Linked DNA regions of Homo sapiens: region 2 is linked to region 1. Evidence: promoter capture Hi-C in 16 types of primary human blood cells and fetal thymus (Javierre and others, 2016). All regions are on one chromosome and are shown on one strand. The core of a region is centred on a gene start or on the middle of the fragment in contact, and the rest is flanking DNA. Distances in the headings are between cores, read along the strand shown.

What was found. Contacts are between HindIII fragments. The CHiCAGO score rates a contact against its expected background, and 5 or more counts as called.
Region 2: a contact is called between a fragment that was not itself captured here and the fragment with the promoter of ACRBP in region 1, in 1 of 17 cell types (non-activated CD4 T cells). The highest score is 5.4, in non-activated CD4 T cells.

Annotation. Positions count from the first base shown.
Region 1 is chr12:6,645,107-6,649,613 of GRCh38, reverse strand. It overlaps ACRBP (acrosin binding protein), which reads left to right and starts at 2,182. Exons shown (of 10, transcript NM_032489.3): 1 at 2,182-2,290; 2 at 2,602-2,820; 3 at 3,037-3,131; 4 at 4,277-4,394. The coding sequence starts at 2,248. RefSeq lists enhancers at 2,255-2,324, 2,248-2,761. The HindIII fragment of the contact is 16,958 bases long and covers 1-4,339 here.
Region 2 is chr12:7,164,884-7,169,390 of GRCh38, reverse strand. LOC124902869 (a long non-coding RNA gene) reads left to right here. Exons shown (of 2, transcript XR_007063196.1): 2 at 2,602-2,717. Among named protein-coding and RNA genes, the nearest start is that of PEX5, 23 kb to the left of the region's middle. The HindIII fragment of the contact is 598 bases long and covers 1,462-2,059 here.

The DNA.
Region 1 (4,507 bases), core at 933-3,432:
TGTAATCCCAGCACTCTGGGAGGTTGAGGTGGGTGGATCACCTGAGGTCCGGAGTTCGAGGCCAGTCTGGCCAACATGTTAAAACCCCATCTCTACTAAAAATACAAAAATTAGCCAGATGTGGTGGCATGTGCCTATAATCCTAGCTACTTGGGAGGTTGAGGCAGGAGAATCACTTGAACCCAGGAGGCAGAGATTGCACTGTGCTGAGACCAGCCATAATTTTTGTATTTTTAGTAGAGACTGGGTTTCACCCTTTTTTTTTTTTTGAGATGGAGTCTCACTCTGTCATGCAGGCTGGAGTGCAGTGGCGTGATTTCGGCTCACTGCAACCTCCATCTCCCGAGTTCAAGCAATTCTCCTGCCTCAGCCTCCCGAGTAGCTGGGACTACAGGCACATGCCACCACGCCTGGCTAATTTTTTGTATTTTTAGTAGAGACAGGGTTTCACCGTGTTAGCTAGGATGGTCTTGATCTCCTGACCTCGTGATCTGCCTGCCTTGGTCTCCCAAAGTGCTAGGATTACAGGCATGAGCCATCGCACCGGCCAAGTTTCACCATTTTGGCCAGGCTGGTCTCAAACTCCTGGCCTCAAGAGATCCACCCTCCTTGGCCTCCCAAAGTGCTGGAATTCCAGGAATGAGCCACAGTGCCTGGTCTCTATTTTATTAATTTATTTTATTTTATTTTATTTTTGAGACAGGGTCTCACTTTGTCACCCAGGCTGGAGCACAGTGGTGAGATCTCAGCTCACTGCAGCCTTGACCTCTGAAGACTCAGGTGATCCTCCTACCTCAGCCTCCCCAAGTAGTAAGTGGGACAACAGGCGCACACCACCACACCTGACAATTTTTGTATTTTTTGTAGAGACAGGGTTTCGCCATGTTGCCCAGGCTGGTCTGGAACTCCTGGGCTCAAGGAATCCACCCGCCTTGACTTCCCAAATGCTGGGATTACAGGCGTGAGCCACCAAGTCTGGCCCAAGACAATTTCTTGTTTTATTTTTCTTTTTTACTTTTGCTTTTGGGTGGGGACAGGGTCTCACTTTGTCACCCAGGCTGGAGAGCAGTGGCCCGATTGCACCTCACTGCAGCCTTGGCCTCATGGGCTCAAGCGATCCTCCCATCTCAGCCCCCCAAGAAACTGGGACTACAGGCACGTGCCACCACGCTTGGCTAATTTTTTGTACTTTTTGTAGAGACGAGGTTTCGCCCTGTTGCCCAGGCTGGAATTTCTCATTTTAAACACAAAACAGATACAAAAGCAAAAGTTCTCCTCCCATACCTCAGTGGACTGTCTTACTCGATTCTCCCTTGGAAACCACTTTCGTAGACCACTGAGCCACCCTCTTGTTTTCCCCTTGGACCCATTTTGCTCATGGAGGCGCCCTGTCTAGTTCCTACCCAGATAGGCCTTGACTTGGTTTTGCACATTCTATCTCTGCCTGCGCTTAGCTCTAGACCTCACGACCTGTTTGTTGGGCGAGTTGCTTCCCTAAGCCCCGATTTCTCATCTGTAAAACGAATGATAGTGTATCTACCTTATGGGATTCCTATGGCAATTACGTAAGGTAGTGCATGTAAAGATGCTAAGTGGCTGGCTACGGTGGCTCACACCTGTAATCCCAGCACTTTGGGAGGCCGAGGTGGGCAGATCATTTGAAGTCAGGAGTTCAAGACCAGCCTGGCCAACATGGTGAAACCCAGTCTCTACTAAAAATACAAAAATTAGGCCGGGCATGGTGGCTCACGCCTGTAATCCCAGCACTTTGGGAGGCCGAGGTGGGCGGATCACAAGGTCAAGAGATCGAGACCATCTGGCCAGCATGGTGAAATACCATCTCTACTAAAAATACAAAAATTAGCTGGGCGTGGTGGCGTGCACCTATAGTCCCAGCTACTCGGGAGGCTGAGGCAGGAGAATCACTTGAACCTGGGACGCCGAGGTTGTAGTGAGCCGAGATCGCACCACTGCACTCCAGCCTGGGCGACAGAGTAGGACTCCGTCTCAAAAAAAAAAGAAAAAGACGCTAAGTGAAGGTAGCTGTTTGCCATTCCTACCATCTGGATGGGCTCTGGCCACTTTAGGGCCCTGAGAGCCCGGCTGTCGAGGCCCCGCCCCGGCCCGCTCTTTGTGACGCGTGGGCGGTGCCCGCGTGCGCCCCGCCCCGCGCCTGCGGCTCTCTCTGCGGCTTGGCCCGTTAGAGGCGGCTTGTGTCCACGGGACGCGGGCGGATCTTCTCCGGCCATGAGGAAGCCAGCCGCTGGCTTCCTTCCCTCACTCCTGAAGGGTGAGAGGTTTACACCTGCTCCAACAGACTCTCCCCGGGCTAGTCCTCTCCCTCCCGAGAGCTCTGCTTTTACGGTTTCTGGATCGCTTCCTCATGGTGGTCGCGCTGGGTCGGCTCCCTAGGTCCTGGGATACTCCCATCTCCCCCCGCCCGCGGCCGGACCTTTGCCTCTGTCTCTAGACTCCCCCCGCCCTGGTCAGCAGGGATAACCCTCACCCCGTTCCTAATTTGCCAGTCTGGGTCTGTCTGTCCTGGTCTCGGAGCGGGTTTTGGGGTTCGGTCCTTCCATCATCCGTTCGCCCGCTCCGCAGTGCTGCTCCTGCCTCTGGCACCTGCCGCAGCCCAGGATTCGACTCAGGCCTCCACTCCAGGCAGCCCTCTCTCTCCTACCGAATACGAACGCTTCTTCGCACTGCTGACTCCAACCTGGAAGGCAGAGACTACCTGCCGTCTCCGTGCAACCCACGGCTGCCGGAATCCCACACTCGTCCAGCTGGACCAATATGAAAACCACGGCTTAGTGCCCGATGGTGAGGGCCAGACTAGGGGGGAAACCGAGGCACCCAGAGTGTTCACCCAAACCTCAGGGCAAAAACCCCTGTGCTCATGTGAGGCGGGGAAGGGCATGGCTGGCACCACACCATGAGCTCGTACTCTCCACCCTCCCCATGGCGTGGAGTCCATTGCCCACAGCCCCACCCCAAGCTCCCCACGGGTTCATCTTCTCCACCCCTGCCCTTTCTCAGGTGCTGTCTGCTCCAACCTCCCTTATGCCTCCTGGTTTGAGTCTTTCTGCCAGTTCACTCACTACCGTTGCTCCAACCACGTCTACTATGCCAAGGTGAGGCCCAGGACAAAGGTTGGATTTGGTGCCCCAGGGCCAAGGGAGAGGCGGCAGCAGTGGGGAGTTGAGGAAGGGTTCCAGGAGAGTCATCCTTAGCTCCTCCTTCCCTGCCATTTTGCCAGTCATTTACCCAGATTATATATGAATACAGTCTCACCTTGGATATTCAGATTGAACAATTCTGTTACTGCAAGAAAAGTAGAGAAGAGACTGGGCATGGTGGCTCATGCCTGTAATCTCAGCACTTTGGGAGCCCGAGATGGGCAGATCACCTGAAGTCAGGAGTTCGAGACCAGCCTGGCCAACATGGTGAAACCCCGTTTCTACTAAAAATACAAAAAAAAAAAAAAAAAATAGCCGGGCTTGGTGATGGGCGCCTGTAATCCCAGCTACTCGGGAGGCTGAGGCAGGAGAATTGCTTGAACCCGGGAGGCAAAGGTTGCAGTAAGCCGAGATCATGCCACTGCACCCTATCCTGAGTGGCAGAGCAAGACTGTGTCTCAAAAAAAAACAACAACAGGGACGAGTGCGGTGGCTCACGCCTGTAATCCCAGCACTTTGGGAGGCCGAGGCAGGCAGATCATGAGGTCAGGAGATCGAGACCATCCTGGCTAACACGGTGAAACTCTGTCTCTACTAAAAATACAAAAAATTAGCTGGGCGTGGTGGCAGGCGCCTGTAGTCCCAGCTACTCGAGAGACTGAGGCAGGAGAATGGCGTGAACCCGGGAGGTGGGGCTTGCAGTGAGCCGAGATCGCGCCACTGCACTCCAGCCTGGGTGACAGAGTGAGACTCCGTCTCAAAAAAAAAAAACAAAAAAAACAAACCCAAAACCCAAACAAAAAGAAGTAGGGAAGAGGGATGGGAAGAGGCAAAGAGATAAGCCCTTACGTTTCTTCGAACAGGTCAGTGATTTTGAGTCAAATGCAAAAGTGACGGCAGGGATGTGGCCCAGACAAACAGAGATTCATCTTCTGAAGGGACCCTTTCTCAGGTCTAGAGGGTTCCAGCAGGGACCATGTCCCTTTATCCCTGCCTAGAAACTGAGAGATAAGACATGCTGGAAAAGGGGTTGAAGAACCAGCTGGAGCAGAAGTCTGCCCTTTAGGAAAGGCTTTCCCATTTTCCTTCTCTTCCTGCAGAGAGTCCTGTGTTCCCAGCCAGTCTCTATTCTCTCACCTAACACTCTCAAGGAGATAGAAGCTTCAGCTGAAGTCTCACCCACCACGATGACCTCCCCCATCTCACCCCACTTCACAGGTGAGACCCTCTCAGCAGCCGGGAGACCACCAGCTACTCCCACAACTCCCAGAGCCCACAACGTAAGGCATCCATGGCAGGGAAATGGGAAGCATGTTGGGCGGGAAGGGGGC
Region 2 (4,507 bases), core at 511-3,010, 520 kb before region 1:
TAATCGTAAAATATTATTATAACATATAGAACCATGTTTAGGCCAAATCTATTGGTTTTCTAATTTGTATTGAAACCAAGTGGTATTGCAATAGAATATGAGTTGCTTTTTCTTGAGGCCAAATTTGAATTTGCTCTAATAGCCTAAAAGACAACCCAAGTGGCAAGTCCTCTGGGATACCTGTCATTGTCCCATGTCCCATGTTTCTACCGGACATAGTTTTTCTAAGTCTAGTGAAAGGAAAAGGAACTGGGCTTTTACTATGTTTTCCTTTTAGATTCTCACTTCCTGCTGAGAAGGTGTAAGTATAAGTAGCAAGGCGTTATGAAAGTGGGTTATAAGGATTTGCCAGTGAATGAACTATGACAAAAGGAGTATTTTTTAAAGCAAAATGTAAAAGGAAAAGTGCAAATAAAGTGACAATAAGAAAAGAAAATGCTGTTATGGAAAATGATAACTTTAGGTCAGGAAACAAGAAAAGGCAAGACCAAGATTCCCCCTAGGGTGTGCCTTCAACCCACAATCCTAGAGGGAACACCAATGCTGAAAGCCCTAGAGCATTCAGAGTGTGGCCAACAAAACCAAATGCCAAAAATCCAGAGTACCAGAGTATCAGCCAGTGAGGGTCCCTACACCAAATGCCAGAAATTCCAGAGTACCTGGGAGCTAACCAATGCCAATAACTTCAGAGCATCTAGGGAAAAGCCAACAGTGAATCCCAAAGGCCTGGTGGGAGCCACAGAACAATATGACTCCAGCGTCCCAGAGTCAACACAATGGGAGGGCTCTCACAACCAAGTGACCTGCTTTAAACAATTGCCCAAATACAGTTAACAAAAAGTCAAAGCAAAAAGCACTGCAGGCAAAACACACATTTAAGAACTGAAAATAAAATGGCTGGTTATTTAAGAAAGAGATAGTAAAGACAAGTCAAAAAGTCCAAGCATGTTGTAAATGGTCTTTGTAAGTCATGATAAGGTTCATGAAGGGGAATTTATGAAAGGAATTCTGTGTATGATTAAGCTAGCTGTAATTAAAATTGTTTAAAATAGACTTTCTACTTTGGGAGGCCAAGGTGGGTGGATCACCTGAGGTCAGGGGTTAAAGACTAGCCTGGCCAACATGGTGAAAACCCATCTCTACTAAAAATACAAAAATTAGCTGGACATGGTGGCAGGCACCTGTAATCCCAGCTACTTGGGTGGCTGAGGCAGGAGAATCACGTGAACCCCAGAGGCAGAGGTTGCAGTGAGCTGATGAGATCACGCCACTGCACTGCTACCTGGGTGACAGAGGGAGACTCCTCTGTCTCAAAAAAAAATTAAAAATTAAAAATAAATAAAATAGACTTCTAAAAAATGGTCTACATGTTAAAATCAAACTTTCTTGAGGTACTGGTTTGCTAAATTATGGGAAATTTTGCTTTCAATACTATAACCCGTTGTGTTTTTTTTTTAAGCTTCTCAAATTTGTGTCTCCAGTCCTTTTTGGGCCATCTCTTCTCCATCTCTTAGATTTCTTTGGAGTGCATCATTCTTTCTGATCTAATTACTGATACAAGTTTCACACACACACACACAACCATCACTGTGAATATTTTAAATGTCTAATGTGTGTGAGAAAGACTATTTCCAGGTATCTGGGTTTTTAATCAATGTTTATTAAAATTATAATTATAAAATCTGATTTTGCATAAGCCTTTAAATTCGAATTACAAATCTTGAAATTCTGTCTATAAATGTACTAAGTGTTGTTTTTGAAAAAATCACTTCCACTTGTTCTTTGATTGATGTTTAACTCAAACAGATTTACATTTTCTTAGCAATGAGTCCTATTTACAAAGTTAGCACATTTTTCATAACTGATATAAACCATATTCACATGCTTAATATATTGAGTTTCTTTTCCTCATGCTTTTCATTGCCTGACAAGGTAGACTTAGAATCCTTATATGCAAAATCTTTCTCACCACTTCAGCAACTCCTGTAAATCTAATTACTTGATTTGCCATGTTCAGATGTTTGATGTGTCCTAAATGTTCTAATACTGCTTATAAGCTTAAGCAGCATCTTATACCTTTCAACTGAAACTCATCAGTCTAAAATCACATATTTCAAGTTGAAAACACAATTTAAATTCAGGTTTAACTTAAATTCATACAGATTTTTAAATTTATCTTAAACTTGACTTCACAATATTATAATTTACCTCACTGACTCTATACTAAGTTTCACACCTTGTCAGAGTTGTAGAGTCATTTACCCCACTAAGCAAAGCAGTTTGACCTTCTCAGGAAGATTGTGGTTATTAGGTCAAAAACTTAGTACCTATTATGGAATGAATGTTTGTGTCCCCTCCTCCTAAAAAATTTATATGTTGAAATCCTAATCCCCAACGTGATGGCATTAGGTTGGTGCAAAAGTAACTGTGGTTTTGCCATTTTAAAAAATGGCAAAAACTGCAATAATATTAGAAGGTGGAGCCTTTGGGAGGTAATTAGGTCATGAAGGTAGAGCTCCCGTTAATGCAATTAGTGTCTTTCCTTATAAAAAGAGATATGAGTGCTCATCCTCACTCTCTCTGCTCTCCACCATGTGCAAGAAGATAGATGTCTACCAACTAGGAAGAGAGCCCTCACCAGGAACCAAATCTGCTGACACCTGGATCTTGAACTTCCCAGCCAACAGAATTGTGAGGAATAAATGTATGTATTTTAAGCCAGTGGTCACCAACCTTTTTGGCACCAGGGATCAGTTTCATGGAGGACAATTTTTCCAGAGACTGGAGGGTGGAATGGTTTCAGGATGATTCAAGCACATTACATTTATTGTGCACTTTATTTCTATTATTATTACACTGCAATACATAGTAAAATAATTGTACAACTCACCATAATGTAGAATCACTGGGAGCCCTGAACTTGTTTTCCTACAACTAGACATCCTATCTGGGGATGATGGGAGACATTGACAGGTCATCAGGCATTAGATTCTCACAAGGAGCACACAACCTAGATCCCTCACATGCACAGTTCACGACAGGGTTTGTGCTCCTATGAGAATCTAATGCTGCCACTGCTCCGACAGGAGGCAAAGCTTAGGCAGTAATGCCAGCAATGGGGAGCAGCTATAAATACAAAAGAAGCTTCACTTGCTTGCCTACCACTCACCTCCTTCTGTGGCAGCGCAGTTTCTAACAGACCACGGACTGGTACCAATCAGTGATCCAGGGGTTGGGGATCCCTGGTTTAAGCCACCCAGGCTATGGTATTCTGTTACAGCAGCCCAATTGACTAAGACAGTGCTATAAAACAGTGACTTGTCAGATTGAAGAGCAGGACAAGAGAGCTACTTTCTGCCAAGGTAATTCTCACCAGTGACCTCATGAGCATTCTCCTGGTAGATTTACCTCTGCTGACCACAGGCCAGGCTTTTGGCTGGACTGTTTCACAGCTCACATCAGCAGGGCATCTTCTGCATTGTGCCTTCTCCCATCTTAGGTAGATGGAACAGTACTGCACCCATACCTGGATCCTTAGCAAGTTTTCCTCGCTTAATAAGTTCTGCATTTTGTTTTGCATTTTTCTTGTCTCACCAGACTCTATAGCCCTGTCAATGGCCTTGTCTAATCCTCTAATTGAGGGTCATCAGACCCACATACACCTTTTCACTTACATACCCATCTGGCCTGGCCTCTAAGTCCTCATACTTCTTTAACATTGTCTAGCTTGTCTTCAAAGACCATAAGCCTTTCTCCCAATGAAATTTCCCTCTTCCCCCATCTTAATCAGCCTTTTTTTTCTTTTGTTTTTATTTATTTCCACTGCACCCGTTCCAGAAGAAAGACAAAATTCTACGTTGTTTTGTTGTTGCTGCTGCCGTTGTCTTTAACTAGTTCTTCCTTGATTCCTTGAGCAAATCTGATTCTTAGAATGTTTTAAACATAGGCATTGTAATTGCCTTCTTGAGCCTTTGGGTTTGCAGTAAGTTCAGTTATCTCTACATCCTAACAAGAAAATGGTATATAATAAGGGATTCTTCCTCCTTTTGATATCTACATTGGGAAAAATATAATATACTTAGTGAGTAAAGCCACAGTCTAGGTCTCCAAAATTCAACTTCATGGCCAAGGATTGTATAGGTAACCAAAGGATGATAAAGATTACAATTCAACACCTACCTTGAGATGGTTGGAAGTAACTCCTCAGAGCTTGTGGACAAGCCTCATGATCTGAGCTCAAGACACCTCCACATTTTACTGTCTCATCTCATGGTACAGCTCCCAGTGACAATAAGACCAGGCATGGCCCACTTAGGCCTGCACAAAGCTCACACACACATGCTTGGGAGAGCAACTTAGCTTCTTTTTAGATTTGAAGCTCGGACTGAAAACCTGGCTGAAAAACACAACAAAACAAAAAATCATTCCATCCACCAATGCTTACCTAGAAAGCTTTTATTTTTGAGAATCTTTTGAGATTCTGCCCCTTCTGAGTCCAAAAGACTTT